4 separate regions of the Homo sapiens genome follow, and regions 1, 2 and 3 are each linked to region 4. The links are contacts of gene promoters, found by promoter capture Hi-C in human tissues and cell types (Jung and others, 2019). All regions are on one chromosome and are shown on one strand. Each heading gives the region's core, a stretch centred on a gene start or on the middle of the fragment in contact. The rest is flanking DNA. Distances are from core to core; before and after follow the strand shown. Region 1 has its middle 200 kb from the start of NABP1. Region 2 overlaps MYO1B (myosin IB). Region 3 has its middle 110 kb from the start of NABP1. Region 4 holds the start of STAT4 (signal transducer and activator of transcription 4).

What was found. Contacts are between HindIII fragments. The study calls those that stand out against the background at their distance.
Region 1: a fragment that was not itself captured here is called in contact with the fragment with the promoter of STAT4 in region 4 in 1 of the 25 tissues and cell types used here (IMR-90 fibroblasts).
Region 2: a fragment that was not itself captured here is called in contact with the fragment with the promoter of STAT4 in region 4 in 1 of the 25 tissues and cell types used here (IMR-90 fibroblasts).
Region 3: a fragment that was not itself captured here is called in contact with the fragment with the promoter of STAT4 in region 4 in 2 of the 25 tissues and cell types used here (lymphoblastoid cells and spleen).

The regions. Positions count from the first base shown.
Region 1 is chr2:191,476,407-191,479,974 of GRCh38, forward strand. No RefSeq gene overlaps it. Among named protein-coding and RNA genes, the nearest start is that of NABP1, 200 kb to the right of the region's middle. RefSeq lists an enhancer at 2,536-3,436. The HindIII fragment of the contact is 4,499 bases long and covers 1-3,568 here.
Region 2 is chr2:191,417,906-191,421,654 of GRCh38, forward strand. All of the region lies in intron 30 of MYO1B (myosin IB), which reads left to right. Among named protein-coding and RNA genes, the nearest start is that of MYO1B-AS1, 170 kb to the left of the region's middle. The HindIII fragment of the contact is 6,261 bases long and covers 1-3,749 here.
Region 3 is chr2:191,570,691-191,574,514 of GRCh38, forward strand. No RefSeq gene overlaps it. Among named protein-coding and RNA genes, the nearest start is that of NABP1, 110 kb to the right of the region's middle. The HindIII fragment of the contact is 6,727 bases long and covers 1-3,824 here.
Region 4 is chr2:191,148,850-191,152,794 of GRCh38, forward strand. STAT4 (signal transducer and activator of transcription 4) reads right to left here and starts at 2,145. Exons shown (of 24, transcript NM_003151.4): 1 at 2,098-2,145. RefSeq lists a silencer at 1,785-1,834 and enhancers at 2,305-2,354, 2,485-2,564. The HindIII fragment of the contact is 8,161 bases long and covers 1,870-3,945 here.

The DNA.
Region 1 (3,568 bases), core at 718-3,217, 330 kb after region 4:
TATTACGGCTAGCAGATATTTTAGAATGTTAGCACAGGTCTTTGAATAAATTTTGCTTCTAAGAGAAGTTACATTTGTTCTTAATTAGATGCGGAGGAAAGTCTCTTTGAAGAGGAACTTCTACTTCACTTTTTACAGAGGCTCAGAGATGAGGTGACATTTGAGTTGCCTTGAAGGATAAGCAGGAATTTGCCAGGCAATAGATAAAGGAAAAAGAACTAGACTCTTGGCCTGCTCTTCTTTCCAACACTCAGATCGTTTTGAGGGCAGAGAAGGTCCATCCTTCTGATAACTGGAATCAACAGCTGACCAGAAGCATAAGCTGAGATGTGTAGTGAATATTGGTACTACAGGAATAAAACCACCAGGCTTAAGCAAGACTGTAGATGGAGACCAGCATGGCATTGCCCTTTTCTGGGCCTGTTTTCTCATCTGTAAAAGACAGAGGTTAAGTAAGAGATGTAGAGTAGGTTATTCTCACTCTTCAATTCTGTGATGCTAGGACTTCCCTAAATGTGATTCTCTGAAGGTTAAATAGTCTCCACTCCCTCAACTATTCCTCATACGATGTTTTCCAAGATTATGTACCACACATGTGCCTTCCGTTGCGTGGATTCTACTTTGTCAACGTCCACTTCAAAACATAGCATACAGCACTGTGATGCCCAGAATGAATGTAATACTCCAGACATGCACCCGCCAGAGGGCAGACTCTGAGGCAATATCCTTTACCTAGATATTGTACTTCAATTGGTGCAGCACAAAGCTTCATGAGTTGTTTTCCAGTCACACCATAGGTTCAAAGCCTTGTTTGCATGAACTCTTAATCTATCCATGTATTGTTAATTGATCTATCCTATGTATTGTTGATACAGGAGTTAAGAAAGAATTACTTCGGCAGATAGCAAGGGCATGTGAGTCCTCAGTAAGGCTTTTCTTTTTAATGAAATGCAGCCCCAAATCATTTCTAACAGAACAGCCTGCAAGCTGTGAGCTTGCATGGACGAATGCTGGCAGGAACTAAGGACTAGACATTTTCTTTTTTTTATTTTTGGAGACGGAGTCTCGCTCTGTCACCCAGGCTGGAATGCAGTGGCGCGATCTCGGCTCACTGCAAGCTCCGCTTCCTAGGTTCAAGCCATTCTCCTGCCTCAGCCTCCTGAGTAGCTGGGACTACAGGCGCCCGCCACCACGCCCAACTAATTTTTTTTTTTTTTGTATTTTTAGTAGAGACGAGATTTCACCGTGTTAGCCAGGATGGTCTGGATCTCCTGGCCTTATGATCCGCCCACCTTGGCCTCCCAAAGTGCTGGGATTACAGGCGTGAGCCACCGCGCCAGGCCAGGACCAGATATTTTCAAGATGGCGGCTCCATCTTCCCTTCTCTGCCCAGCCCGGTGTGCTGTAAGGAGCAGACAAGATGGCACTGATCAACTTGCATAGGAAGATTAGGGTGGGACAACTAGCCTTCCCCACGTGCTATGTAAACATCATACCTAATCAAACTAATCTATGAGTCCTATGAAAATCGGACATCCCCTCCTCAAACTGGACTATGAAACTCGGCATATTCGCCATCAGCAGGCCCCTTCCACTTGGAGACCTCTCTTGGGCACCCCGCTTTCTCAGCATGAGGAAGCTTTCTCTCTCTCTCTTCTTCTTTGTCTATTAAACTTTCTGCTTCTAAACCCACTCCTTGTGTGTGTCCGTGTCCTAAATGTTCCTGGCACGCGAAGACAAAGCCCAAGGTATATGCCCCAGACAACAAAGCCGCTTCATTGTAAGTTTATGCAATTGATTGAACCTAAATGGAAGACCTGATACTTGTTCATGTAAAATTTATCTTAATATTCACAGAAGTATCTAGCATAGTCAATAAGTATTTGTTGAATTGAATAGATTTTCATTTTGCTTTGGGCTGTCAATACAACTTTAGAAAAGCTTTCTGAATTTTTATTAATTTAATATTTTATAATACTTAAATCTTTCTACTCTAAAAAGTGATTTAAGAACCTTGATTCAGCATTCCCTCTCAGCTGTGTGATTTCCACAAATCAGACAGATATCGTATTTCTGTACCCATAAGGAATGTGACCTAGAAAAGGCATTGACCTGGGGTTTGCCACCAGCTTTCTCCATTAATAAGTTATGTCCTGCTAATAACAGTGTTAAATGTAAAGGTCACAAAGCACACTAAAATCGAAAAACAGAATCTTCAATGTGCAGATTTTCAAACATAAAAATAATAACATGGTCATTTCATTGAAAGATTCACCAGTGCAAATCCTACATGGAATAGGAGATGTAAAATTCCCTGAACCACTCGGAAAGTGTGACCACGCTGACAGGCTTGAATCTCAAATTTTAATTAAGGCCATCTTGCTTTTTGTGAAGAATTTTAAAAGCTGTTCTAAATTGGATTGTTCGGGGTGGTTTCCATGCACTCACAAGGATAACACCGGCAGCTGAATAGAAAACTCTAAGAACCAGGAGGCTCATACACTGCACTGATACCGATTCTCCTTTTTTTACCCCAGAAGCCACGCCCAGCCTTCAAGCATCTGTCCGTACATCATTACACAGCGCCTTCCCTTCCCCCTTAGCAGATAGAAGGTTATAAAGAGGTGGTGCCAAGAGGGACAAAAGATTCTCATAATTGTATTTTCCAGCAATTTTTTTCTTTTAATTCTGTGCTCTTCAAAAACTACAGGAGTGACTGCATGTAAATAGACCTCTCTGATGGATGGCTGATTGCCATTGACTCTTTGCAAATTTAATCCATTAAGTGCCTCCTATAGAAAGAGAATACAATGCCCTACAATGCAGAGGGTCAACCTTAGAAAATAAAACACAACCTGAATGGGGCAGTGCAAGAAGAGAAATCCACACAGCCTCTGATGGTAAAAAGCTCTTTGTTGTTTACTTATTTTATTATTTCAGAAGGAAAGCTAAATCAGGAGTCTGATGCTTGTGCTAATCTTTTTCTTTCCTTTTTTCCCCTCCCTCAGGAAGGAAGCCATTCAGGCAACAATCAGGCTCTTATCTTGGGCTTCTTATCATTAACCAGAGGAGCCTGTGCTGGAAATGAAATTCAGAGGCACGGCCAGGAAAGGCTGTTTCCCTAATTGAGCGGCTGCCTTTTGAAATCTTGTCTCCCCAGCGGAGCCTGGAGCTGGCTAGGTCTCCCTGGCCAAGATCACTCATTGTGTAATCTCTCACACACCAGGAGCAGATGCTCCTCGACTGGAGCTTTTATGAAAGGCCTTTAATAAGGCTTCTCAACCTGCCACACGTTGGGCAGCCAGAGGGAGGGGCAGTTTTCAGAAAAGCCTCTGATCAAGGAGTTCAAGACTCTAGACGCGTTTGGGCTTTGCCGTCAGATGTACTTCAGTCAAGATTCTGCAGTTTGGGGGAATTCTCAGCACCCTGAGGGGACTTCCCATTTCATCCCCTCCCTTGCTTTCCCCTGCCTTGCCTTCACAGGGTTGTGGTCAAGTTTAAATGGCATTGTGTATAGAAAGGACTTGACGCAGATTAAGGGTGTAGTAAATAATATTACAATAAATGT
Region 2 (3,749 bases), core at 670-3,169, 270 kb after region 4:
ATCTGGGAAAGGGGGACAGTTCGCTTCTGGGCAGCAAGGGCCCTGCCCTGTCACAGAGGGCGTGTGATGTTCTGGATGCCATAAGCTTTCAGTAAACAGTTGTCTGAGCGAAGATTTATAATGTGGCCACATGAAGAAAACAAACATTGGGTAGCATTATAATGCCTTTCATTCTCCAGTGCCTAATTATTGATTGGTCTCATAAAAATAAAACAGTTCATAGGACTCTACATAGCACCCGTGGGTCCCTTCCCCAGGTGGCACAGGAAGCCTGCAGAGGAAGTTTGTAGGTAAGGATCGTAAATCTCCTTAGGGAGCATTTTGAATTTAAACGAAAATGTCCAAAGTCATAGGCAGGGGCGCCTGTTCCTTTATGTGTCAGCCCTAAGTGGCTTCGCTAGCTCTATAGAACCAGTGTTGAAAACCACATGCAGTTTAGTGACTAAGCCCTTCCTTGCTTTTTCCTTCCCAGAAGTAGAAGTAGTTACTCTAACAAACCTAGATTCTGTAATCATTATGGATAAGTGGATGTCAGTTTATGGAAAGAGAGTCAAAGTCCTGTTTACTCTTTAGTGGATTTTTTTTTTTTTTTTTTTTTTTTGAGGCAGAGTTTCGCTCTTGTTGCCAAGGCTGGAGTGCAGTGGCACGATCTTGGCTCACCGCAACCTCCGCCTCCCGGGTTCAAGGGATTATTCTGCCTCAGCCTCTTGAGTAGCTGGGATTACAGGCATGCACCACCACGCCTGGCTAATTTTGTATTTTTAGTAGAGATGGGGTTTCTCCATGTTGGTCAGGCTGGTCTCGAACTCCTGACCTCAGGTGATCCGCCCCCCTGGGCCTCTGAAAGTGCTGGGATTACAGGCGTGAGCCACCGCGCCCAGCCTGTTCAGTGGAATTTAAACTTGTACATATAGAAGTGAGAATTGAATTCATTCAGAGATTCAGCTGCCTTATAGTTTCTAGTCCTTAAACTTCTAAGCTGTTCAATGTGTAACTAGATTGCATTTTAAGGATAACCTGCAAGATGTGTAATGCAGTTATGCACCACATAATGACATTTTGGTCAGCAATGGATTGCACAGATGACGGTGGTCCCCTAAGATTGTAATGGAGCTGAAAAATTCTTCTGTCTATTGATGTCACAGGTGTTGTAATGTTATAGTGCAAGGCACTACTCACATGTTTGTGCTGCTGCTGGTGTAAACAAACCTACTTCACTGCCAGTTGTCTACAAGTAAAAGCACATACAATTATGTACAATATGTAACTCTTGATAATAAATGATGTTGTTACTGGTTTATGTATTTATTATACTATACTTTTTTTTTTTTGAGACTCAGTCTTGCACTGTTGCCCAGGCTGGAGTGCAGTGGCGTGATCTCGGCTCACTGCAAGCTCCGCCTCCTGGGTTCATGCCATTCTCCTGCCTCAGCCTCCCGAGTAGCTGGGACTACAGCTGCCCGCCACCACGCCCGGCTAATTTTTTGTACTTTTAGTAGAGGTGGGGTTTCATCGTGTTAGCCAGGATGGTCTCGATCTCCTGACCTTGTGATCTGCCCGCCTCAGCCTCCCAAAGTGCTGGGATTATAGGCGTGAGCCACCACGCCCGGCCTATACTGTACTTTTTATCTTTATTTTAGCGTGTATGCCTACATGTTAAAAAAGTTAATAGTAAAACAGCCTCGGGCAGGTCCTTAAGGGGGTATTTCAGAAGGCATTGTTATCTTAGGAGAAGACAGCCCCATGTGTATTATTACCCCTGAAGACTTTCCAGTGGGACAAGACATGGAGATAGAAGACAGTGAAATTGATGCTCCTGACCCTGTGTAGGCCTAGGCTAATATGTTTGTATCTTAGTTTTTAACAAAAAGTTTAAAAAGTAAAAATAAAAAAAATTAAAATTTTAAAAATAGAGAAAAGCTTATAGAATAAGGTTATAAAGAAAATATTTTTGTACAGCTATACAAAGTATTGTGTTTTAAGCTAAGTGTTATTACAAAAGAGCCAAAAAACAGCCGGGCCCAGTGGCTCACGCCTGTAATCTTGGCACTTTGGGAGGCCAAGGCTGGTGGATTGCTTGAGCTTAGGAGTTCAATACCAGCCTGGGCGACATGACGAAACCCCTTCTCAACAAAAAAATTAAAAAATTAGCCAGCCATGGTGACACACACCTGTAGTCCCAGCTTCTCAGGAGGCTGAGGTGGGAGAATCATCTGAGCCCGGGAAGGTCAAGGCTGCCCTGAGCCATGATTGCTCCAGTGAACTCCAGCCTGGGAGACAGACCAAGACCCTGCCTCAAAAACAAAACAAAAGTGTCAAAAATGTTTTTAAAATTGTAAAGTTTATAAAGCAAAAAGTTACAGTAAGCAAAGGTTAATTTATTATTGAAGAAAGAAAAAATTACCTATAAAGTATACCGTAATGTAATGTCCTAGGCCTTCACATTCACTAACAACTCACTCACTGACTCACCCAGAGCTACTTCCAGGCCTGCAAGCCCCATTCATGGTAAGGGCGCTAGACAAGTACACTATTTTTTATCTTTTATGCTATTCTTACTGTACCTTTTCTATTCTTACTAAGTTTACACATACAAATACCATTGTGTTACAGTTACCTACAGTACAATAACACGCTGTAGCATCTAGGTTTGGGTAAATGCACTCACTCTATGATGTTTGCACAATGACAAAATCACCTAGTGATGCATTTCTCAGAATGTATCCCTTTTATTAGATGATGCATGACTATATTTCTAAAATCAAGTTCCCAAATAGAGTAAAAACTAAAGTGAATTTGTTTCATTAAACATTTTAAATATATGTGTGTGTATATACATATAGGTATACACGTGTGTACAATAGATACACATATATCATTTAAGTTATACAATTGGTTTTCTGAATATTTGAAATCCAAACAACTAATCCATGTTCCTTTTACCTTGAAATTCTAACTGGTATGAATGCCATGAAATAATACATTCCATGTTATTGTTTGTTGGAGGAGGATTTTCTCTTTTCTATGAGGTGAAGATAAATAATAGTGCTTACCTCCTAGGATTGTCTTAAAGCCTGATCTAATAACATAGTAAATGGCCAAGCACAGTGTGGTATGTAGCAAATCCTCAATATATCTTGCCTATTGTTATTTCTAGTGTGAATCTTTTTTTTTTTTTTTTTGAGACAGAGTCTTGCTCTGTCGCCTAGGCTCGAGTGCAGTGGCGAGATCTCGGCTCACTGCAACCTCTGCCTCCTGGGTTCAAGGGATTCTCCTGCCTCAGTTCCCCGAGTAGCTGAGGTTACAGGCATGCACCACCACGCCCTGCTAATTTTTGTATTTTTAGTAAAGACGAGGTTTCACCGTCTTGGCCAGGCTGGTTCCAAACTCCTGACCTCAGGTGATCCGACCACCTCAGCTTCCCAAAGTGCTGGGATTACTGTCATGATCCACCGTGCCTGGCCTCTAGTGTGAATATTAATCAGGAATTATAGACATGGAAACAGTTAATGTAGGCCAAGGTTATTGGGGAAAGAAGTTCCTATACATTTATTACACTTACAAGTGGTCTTTTTTATTTATTTTGAGGCAGAGTCTCCCTCTGTCACCCAGGTCAGAGTCCGGTGGTGTGATCCCGGCTCAATGCAGCCTCCTCTGCCTCCTAGCTGCAAACGATTCCCCTGCCTCAGCTTCCCGAGTAGCTGGAATTACAGGCATGCACCACCGTCCCTGGCTAATTTGTGTATTTT
Region 3 (3,824 bases), core at 1-2,500, 420 kb after region 4:
TATCAATAATTCATTCCTTTTTACTCCTGAGGATTAATCCACTGTATGGATCCATCACAGTTTGTTAATCCATTGAGGAATCATTCCTTCTGTTTTGTTTTATAAGATCACGAAGCGTTAGATGTGTAAGGGGCATTATAGGTCACTTAATCTAAGAAAATCATCAGTTATCTGTAGTTATCTACCTACAGATTAGGTAACTGAAGCCAGAACACTACTTAAGAATTTCCCTGGAAATTGTTTAAAATTGAGATTCATACCTATTCCTGCCGTTTGATTCTGATGGTGGAGTGAATCCTGGGATTCTGCAGTTTTAGCAACAGCCTCTGGTGATTCTAATCCAGATATATGGTCTACTATACTTAAAACACCGAATTATTTAAATATTGAGGTCGTAGAAGGTTAGGAGCAAAGGCTGGATTTAAATCCACAATTTTTGATTTCTAAGTTTAGGGCTCTTTCTACTACATTATGTCAACCCCAAATAACATCAGACACATGGAAGCCTGACGCTGTCTGCTAGCGTAAATCTCTTTGTTTTCTCATCAAAGAAATGCCACAGCTCGATTCCAGGCTACATTCTTGTGTTTCCAGAAGAGGGTACTGATAACAAATCCTTTCTTTAATGCACGTATTTCTTTCTCTTACTCTCTCTCCCCACCCCCTCTCTCCTCCCTTCTTTCTTCCTCTGCTTGTTTTTGTTTTGTTTTGTTTCGTTTTGGGTTTTTTGTGGGGTTTTTTTTCTGGTCATTAAAGTTGCAAATATGAAAAGCAACAAAGTGAGACCTGGGAAAATGAGTTTACTTCAATAAAAAGCCAAAGTCCCTGGAGAAATTTCTTGACATCATTACATTTTTAATACAAACTTGCCTGTAAGTGCTGTCACTTACTGGCTTCCAGTCACTAATTTTATGAGTCAGCACTTTCCCTCAGTGACTTCCTCAAAATTATAGGAATAGGAGGGGCTGGACAGAACATGCAGAAGTAAGAATGCTGAAAATTTAACCAGAGCTGAAGAAACGTTGACCTTTAGGAACAACAATGACCAAAAATGTCATCTAGTTATCTTACTCCCTATCTCTTTCCATTGGGTAGTTAGGGAGGAAGCCATAAGCCTAACTTGGTATATATATATATATATATTTTTTTTTTTTCCCTTAAGTTATTATAATTCCAGTGACCCTTGGGCTGCCTTCCTCCAAACTCTGAAAATTTGAACTCAGGCAGTGGGGCCTGAACCCTTACTTGATACCTGGTGTCTGAGAATGTTGTTTCTAAGCAAGGATATCAAGATCATGAAAAACCAAGCAGTAACATATCAAATGAAAGAAGAGACATGAGTCCAACTCAAGCTGCCAGAAAAATTTAATTCATCTTTGATAGTTTGGGCATTTTCCTAACAATATTTTTATGACAAATTGGGTAATTCAAATGTGCTGGCTACCTTTGAAGCCCTAGAATGAAAGTGAGCTTTTGCCTCATGAGATAAAATAAGACAAGGCTTTGAGAATTCAGTCGCCCCACCCTGGGTAGAATTGTGAGAAGGCACACTGTGTCCCTAGGACCCTCAGACTCACTTCTTTGAAACCTTTTCTTTCCCCACTCTTACCAGGTATGGGGGCTCCATTGCTCTCCTCATTGGATCCTTAGTGTGAGTGACACAGAGTCTTATTATCCTATGCTGTCTACGTTTGCATTTGAACATTAATTGTGGCAATGACAAGCTTTGTCTTTGAGTCACAAGGCTTGGAAATAAGACAGAAGATTGGTAATTAGAAGTTCTAATCTGTGTTCATCTACTTATCACTTGTGGGCCCTTAGGCGAGTCATTTAACCTTTATGAGTCTATTTTCTCATGTGTCAAATAGTAACGATGATAGTAATATGCACATTTGTGAGTGGCTATAGGGACTAGAGATTAGGTATATAAAGTACCTGGTCCATAAATGGTAGTTAAAGGCATGTCGGCCATGCGGGTGTCAGGCATGCAGATGATGGAAAATTTGGGACTTCTCCTATTGACAAGAGGACTTTTCTAGTACAACTGAAACTGGCTTATTAGAATGGAGAGTGGTAGCTGCCTACTCAATTAGGGTGGGCCTATGTGTTTTGCCCTAATGCCTCATGTCTACCTAATTTCTCTTTGTGTCCATTGTAATCATGGAGCCCGAATCTTTGGATCATTTATGAGAGTCATAAATCTAACTGGGTGAAAGTGGAATTGAGAAGAGACTCCAATGTATTTGTGAGACCAGGTACTTAAGGGTTGCTACATTTGAAACACAATTATAGAATACATACATATACAGAATGACAAATGATTTCCACAAGTTTGACAAGGAAACTAATCTTATTACTTTATGGTCACACTTCTGTGACAATGCAACTTAATTTTGCCAAAATGTATTTCTATGTTTATGCACATATACATGCTCCTCAATGGCCTATTTCTATACTCACCCAAATTGTATATAATCACAAAAAAACTGTCTTTTTTACAATACAGTTTATTTATTGCACTTCTTAAAGGCAGAAACATTCATTGTGATTTCTGTTCTCAGGTAATGAGAAGCTGTGATAGATATTAACAGAAGAAACTTTGAGTGGAAAGTTCTCCAGATTTTCTCACTGCCTCTCTCCAAATTTGATATGCTGTAATATTTTTAGTCTTATTATTATAGTGTCAGGGTGGAGATGAATCATATTGAGAGGAAGAGGTAAAGTGTTAGACTCTAAAAGTGTGTAAACAGCCATCAAGGGAAATTCTGAAGCATCCTAGTGCTTGGGGAAGGTTTAAGGAGTTTATTCTTGGCACCGTTGCCTATAATCCATAATTAGCAACCCATTGATATGGTATTTGTTAAATTCCTACATTGTAGGTTAAGACTATTGAAATTGCAGTACACCAGTGGGAAAACAGACTACAATATTCACACTGGCATAGATTTCAGTCTCTGGGAGTAGGTAGTTTGCCTGAAGCCAGATAGTTCTTAGGAATCAATAACCTCATTAGCCCCAGGAGACTGGATCTCTATACTTTGTAGAGTGGTACAGTTGCTGGAACATCTGCCAATGGGCACCTGCCTTAGTGGAAAGAGAATTATTTTTTTGTAGGCATTAAAGCTCAGAATAATTCAAAAACATTCCTCTAGGTACTGAACAACTATTTATCAATCTTACAGATGGAATTATTGCTGTCTCTGCCCGAAAGCCTTTGTTGACGTCTCCTTCCAATCAGTCAGCTCAGGGTTTAATCTGGTTAATCCCACAGAGCAATGGAGTTCTTTTTCTGCCATAGCTTTTCCTTAGTCCAAGGAGAAGGAAGAAATATTTAGATTCGTGAGAGGTCTGTGTTCTCCAGCACGCTGCTGCAGTATCAGAAATACACGGCAAAAATGAAGCAACTTGTTTTCCTTCTTCAAGGGGTAGATGAGAAATAGCTGCAGTTTTTCAAACTGTGGAAAATGTAACTATGTATGTTTCTGCTGCATGGTATAACTGACTGTCAGGTGTGGATCAGAAGCTAGTTGATGATGATAATGAAATATGTCATTATTTCCCCATTTCTAGAAGTGCTCAGTGTGAGCAGACAGTAGATCCAAAGCATAGAGTAATTAAGACCAGGCCCTAATAAAACTCAGATCCGAAGGTTGTCTTGGCTCTACCTATCAACTTCTTTTTCTATCAGTTAAAATATGTGTGGAATGTAATGATAATCTGAGTCATATTAGTGGCATGAAAGAGAGGAAAAAAGGATGGATTCAGCGATACTAAAAAGGTAGTCTCAGGAGGATTTGGTGACTGTGTTAGTTTCCTAGTGCTGT
Region 4 (3,945 bases), core at 895-3,394:
GAGGATCCATTATAGATGGGCAAAGCTCTTAAAGGATGTAGTCTTTTTGTCTCTGAGAAACATCTGATAGTGGTTAAACCCTCAAGTTACTTAAGGAGTAAGAAACCACACTTGATACCTATTTGGCAGCCTGTCATAAAAGAAAAGTACGCATTTCCCCCTTGTAACCCCACTCTGGCCAATTTAGAAGCTGTAGACATATTTCCTAACTCAGGAAAATTAGTATGACGCTGCCTCCTTGAAATTACAGCATTTTATGTTTTCCAAAGTCAAATTTTTGGTTGTTTTCTCAGCAATTCTAAGTCAAGTAAAAACACCAAACCCCCTTTTACATGATTAATCACCATAACATTTCAACATATCTCATAGATAGGCTAAGGTTTCCTTTTGCCTATAGAACACCAGGGTAATTTCATATATTTCATATACATATTCTTTGGGTTTTAAGTAGAATCATTTTGAGCACCTTTTCCCTGAGCTCCTGGTAAATGACTTAAAATTTATAAAAAAACGTGTTGCCAATGTTTTGCTAAAGAGAAAGCAAGTGGGAAAAGAAGTAATGTTTTATTTGCATATCATTTTATATTTATGAAAACCTTTACACTTTACAATTCTAGGCATATTGTAAATGCTCAATCAATGCTTGTTAAATGAAGAATGAGTGGCACTCCTGACATTGCTATGAATATGGTAGGTGGATATAAGTAGTATGTCAACTTTAAAAAGGAAAAACTTGAAGATCAAATAGGCGAAATGACGCCTGCCTAATGTGTGAGGCTTCTAAGGGACAACCTGAGGTTTCCTGAGTCTGAACCATTTGTTTTTCCAGATATCGGATGTATATATATTCCATCGGATGTGTATATATTCCACACAAAATTGGAACATTTGTTCTCATGCTACTATCAACATTGTCCTATCTATCAATTTATTTTAGTTAATGACAACAGAGAACATGAGTTGAAAATAGCATTACAGTTTTTCATCATACTATTGTTAAACCCCCGCTATGATTTGGATGAAAAATCTATTTTCTAACTAAAACTTACAGGTAGATGGGAGGAATAAGTTCTAGTGCTGTAACACTAGGATGAATATGGTTAACAATAACTTAGTGTATATTTTCAAAAAGCTAAGAGGATTTTGAATGTTCACAACACAAAGTAATGATAAATGTTTGAGGTGATGGATATGCTGAATATCCTTTGATCATAACACATTGTTCATATTTATTGAAATATCACTGTATATTCCATAAATATTTACAATTGTGTGTCAAATGAAAATAAAAGGAAAATTAAAAAAAATAAAAATAAACACCGAAAAAAATCACTACTAAGATCTGAGTCTTTCGGAGAGCTGAATTCAAAGCTGAAAAAAGGAAGAAGAAGGAATACATAGTCCTAGGACATTTTCTATTGCAGCCTCTGGGAACGCCTTTAGACATCCTTCAGCAGGTTTCTTTGCTTTCACTCTCTAGGGGCTACTTCTTTCTCATGAAAACTGTGACGTTGCTTCTGAAAACTCAGTGCCTGTCTGTCCTTTTTGCGTGCATTTCCTAGAAGATCCCACTAAAGGGGCATTTTGTCCCACCGTCTGTGAGCTGGTGGTGCCGCTTTGGCTCTGTGGCCTGTAGCTTGCAAAAGGAGATGACCTGCCCTAAAATGTCACTCGCGCCCATCAAAGCCACAGTCACCGGCTGCCGTAGCTGCAAGCTTTTTTCTGAAATCCAGGTACGCTAATCTAAAGTCAGACATCACAGCTCTAGAGAAGCTGGCTAAGAAAGTGAAGAGGGGCTCACTTTCAGCCTCCGCGAGGACACACCTCCGCAGCCGCCGCAGCTCCCCTGGCCCCCGCAGGGAGATTCGCCCGGGCACCGTGGCGCGGGCCTGCGGAGCGGTTTCCGCGGAGAACCCGTGCCAGGGCGCATCTGTGGGTCGTGGAGTCGGGCGCTTCCTTCTATAATAAGCCTCCTCAGGAAGGTTAAAATGAAGCAATTGTCAAAACGCCAAGGGAAAGCAAAGCTTCAGAGTATCCTGCATAATAAGCATGTCCTCCTTACAAGAGGCAGCCAGAAGGTGTGGTCTGGCCACTTACCTAGCGCTCTCTCAGCACAGGTCCCAGGCAGTGCTCAAGTCCAAAGTCAGAAGCGCCCCTCACAGTCCCTAGGAGAAAGCCGCTGACGCCATCATCAGTAGGGGATTTGCATTTCTCCTCCCACTTGAGGCTTTCCTGTGCGTCAGTGTTCGAGTCTCTGGGACTTTACTTGGGTCAGTTCCCACCCACTCTATTCTAGAAATGCTAACACGCAGAAACTGCCAGGCTGGAGCCCCTTCACCGGGCGTCCTCTTCCCTCTTATCCCTCCCAGCGGCTCTCGCAACTGCAGGTGGCTCAGCAGTGCCAGGAAAAAGGGGAGGGGCGGGGCATACATTTTCTTCAGTGGTTTCCTTAGACAATCTGAGATCCTCTGCAGAGTTACTTACCTGGAGCCCAGTTCTTCAGCTTCCTCTCTCCCTAGTATAAGGCTCCACTCAGCCTGGTGAACCACCCCTGGGATGGAAGGGATGGGTAGCCAGGATCAAAACACCAAACTCATAGACCTTACTGGGCTCCAATTCCAGCGGGGTCCGCTCACTCCGACGAGGGTGACCTGACCCAGAGGGTTGGGCCAAGTCCTGGGTAGGCCACCAGTGCTTGCCCTTCCTGACCTAGCCTCCTCCTACTCTCCTTGAGTAGCCTTGCCCCTGGTTGCTACGGTGCGTTCTTCTCCCTTTGTGACATCAGCCTGTTCTAGAATCACAGAGTTGGAGGAAGTCTTGGTCCCATCTAATGCTAAATCCTCTTTCATATCTGAAGAGACCCAGTGAGGTGACCAAGAGGACTCAATAAGTTAGCCACGGAGCCCGATAATAGCCCAGGTGTTTCCCTTCCCACTTCAGTGGTCTTTTCATTTCATCTCCTTGTAGTTAGCTCTTAACCCCTTGATTCACAGTAGGGGTTCAATAAAATAAAGAGAAGTCCAGGCGTGTGGCTCACACCTGTAATCCTAGCACTTTGGGAGGCTGAAGTGGAAGGACTCCTTGAGCCCAGGAGTTTGAGACCAGCCCAGGCAACACAGTAAAATCCCACCGTATATTAAAAAATCAATAAAAATGTTTAAGAAAGTAAAAATAGTAAAACAAAGACAAAAATAAAGACAGACAGACAGACTGAAAGAAAGGTAGAAAGTGTCACTCAATTTGGTTATACACATGCTTAGAGCAATATACCAAGGTGAAAGGCCTGCCTCCCTCTTCCCTGACGGGTTTCACACAGGTACACCCTCTGGATTCTTCTCTCCCAGGTGACATTATCATGTGCTTAAACTTACCACCCACCCCCAAATAGGTCAATCAATCCAAAGTCACACTTTCCATATCACTGTAAATTTCCTGGTTAGGTAGGCCTGGTCCCCACTGCTTGTTGAGCAGGCAGTTTCCAGGAGCTTATGCTGCTCTGACCCTACATAAGAAAGTGCCAATTTCAGGCTATTCCATAAGCTACTAAGCAAAGTCTGATTTTCTTCTGGAGAAGCTGTCACTGCCTATAGGAAAAAAATCCAAATTCTTGGCAGTTTAAGTTCTGTACAGTTTGGTCCCAACCTATCCAGGAAACTTTTCTCCCCTATAAGAGCCCATGATGTGACCCAAGCAGTCACCTCAGCTGCCCAGATTAACCTCATATTTCACTACCGAGGCTTTCTTCAACTGGATATTCCTCCCTGAGCCTACCTACTTAGTGAAATCCTATAGTTCTCAGTGAAGACTTCCCGATGACCTGAACCCACAGCAATGTTTCCCTGCTCCAAATTCTTCATACTTCCTGTCCAAACCAGCGCTCTCCAAGAGAAATAAAATGTAAGCCACATATGTAATTGTAAATTTTCTCATAGCCATATTAAAAAG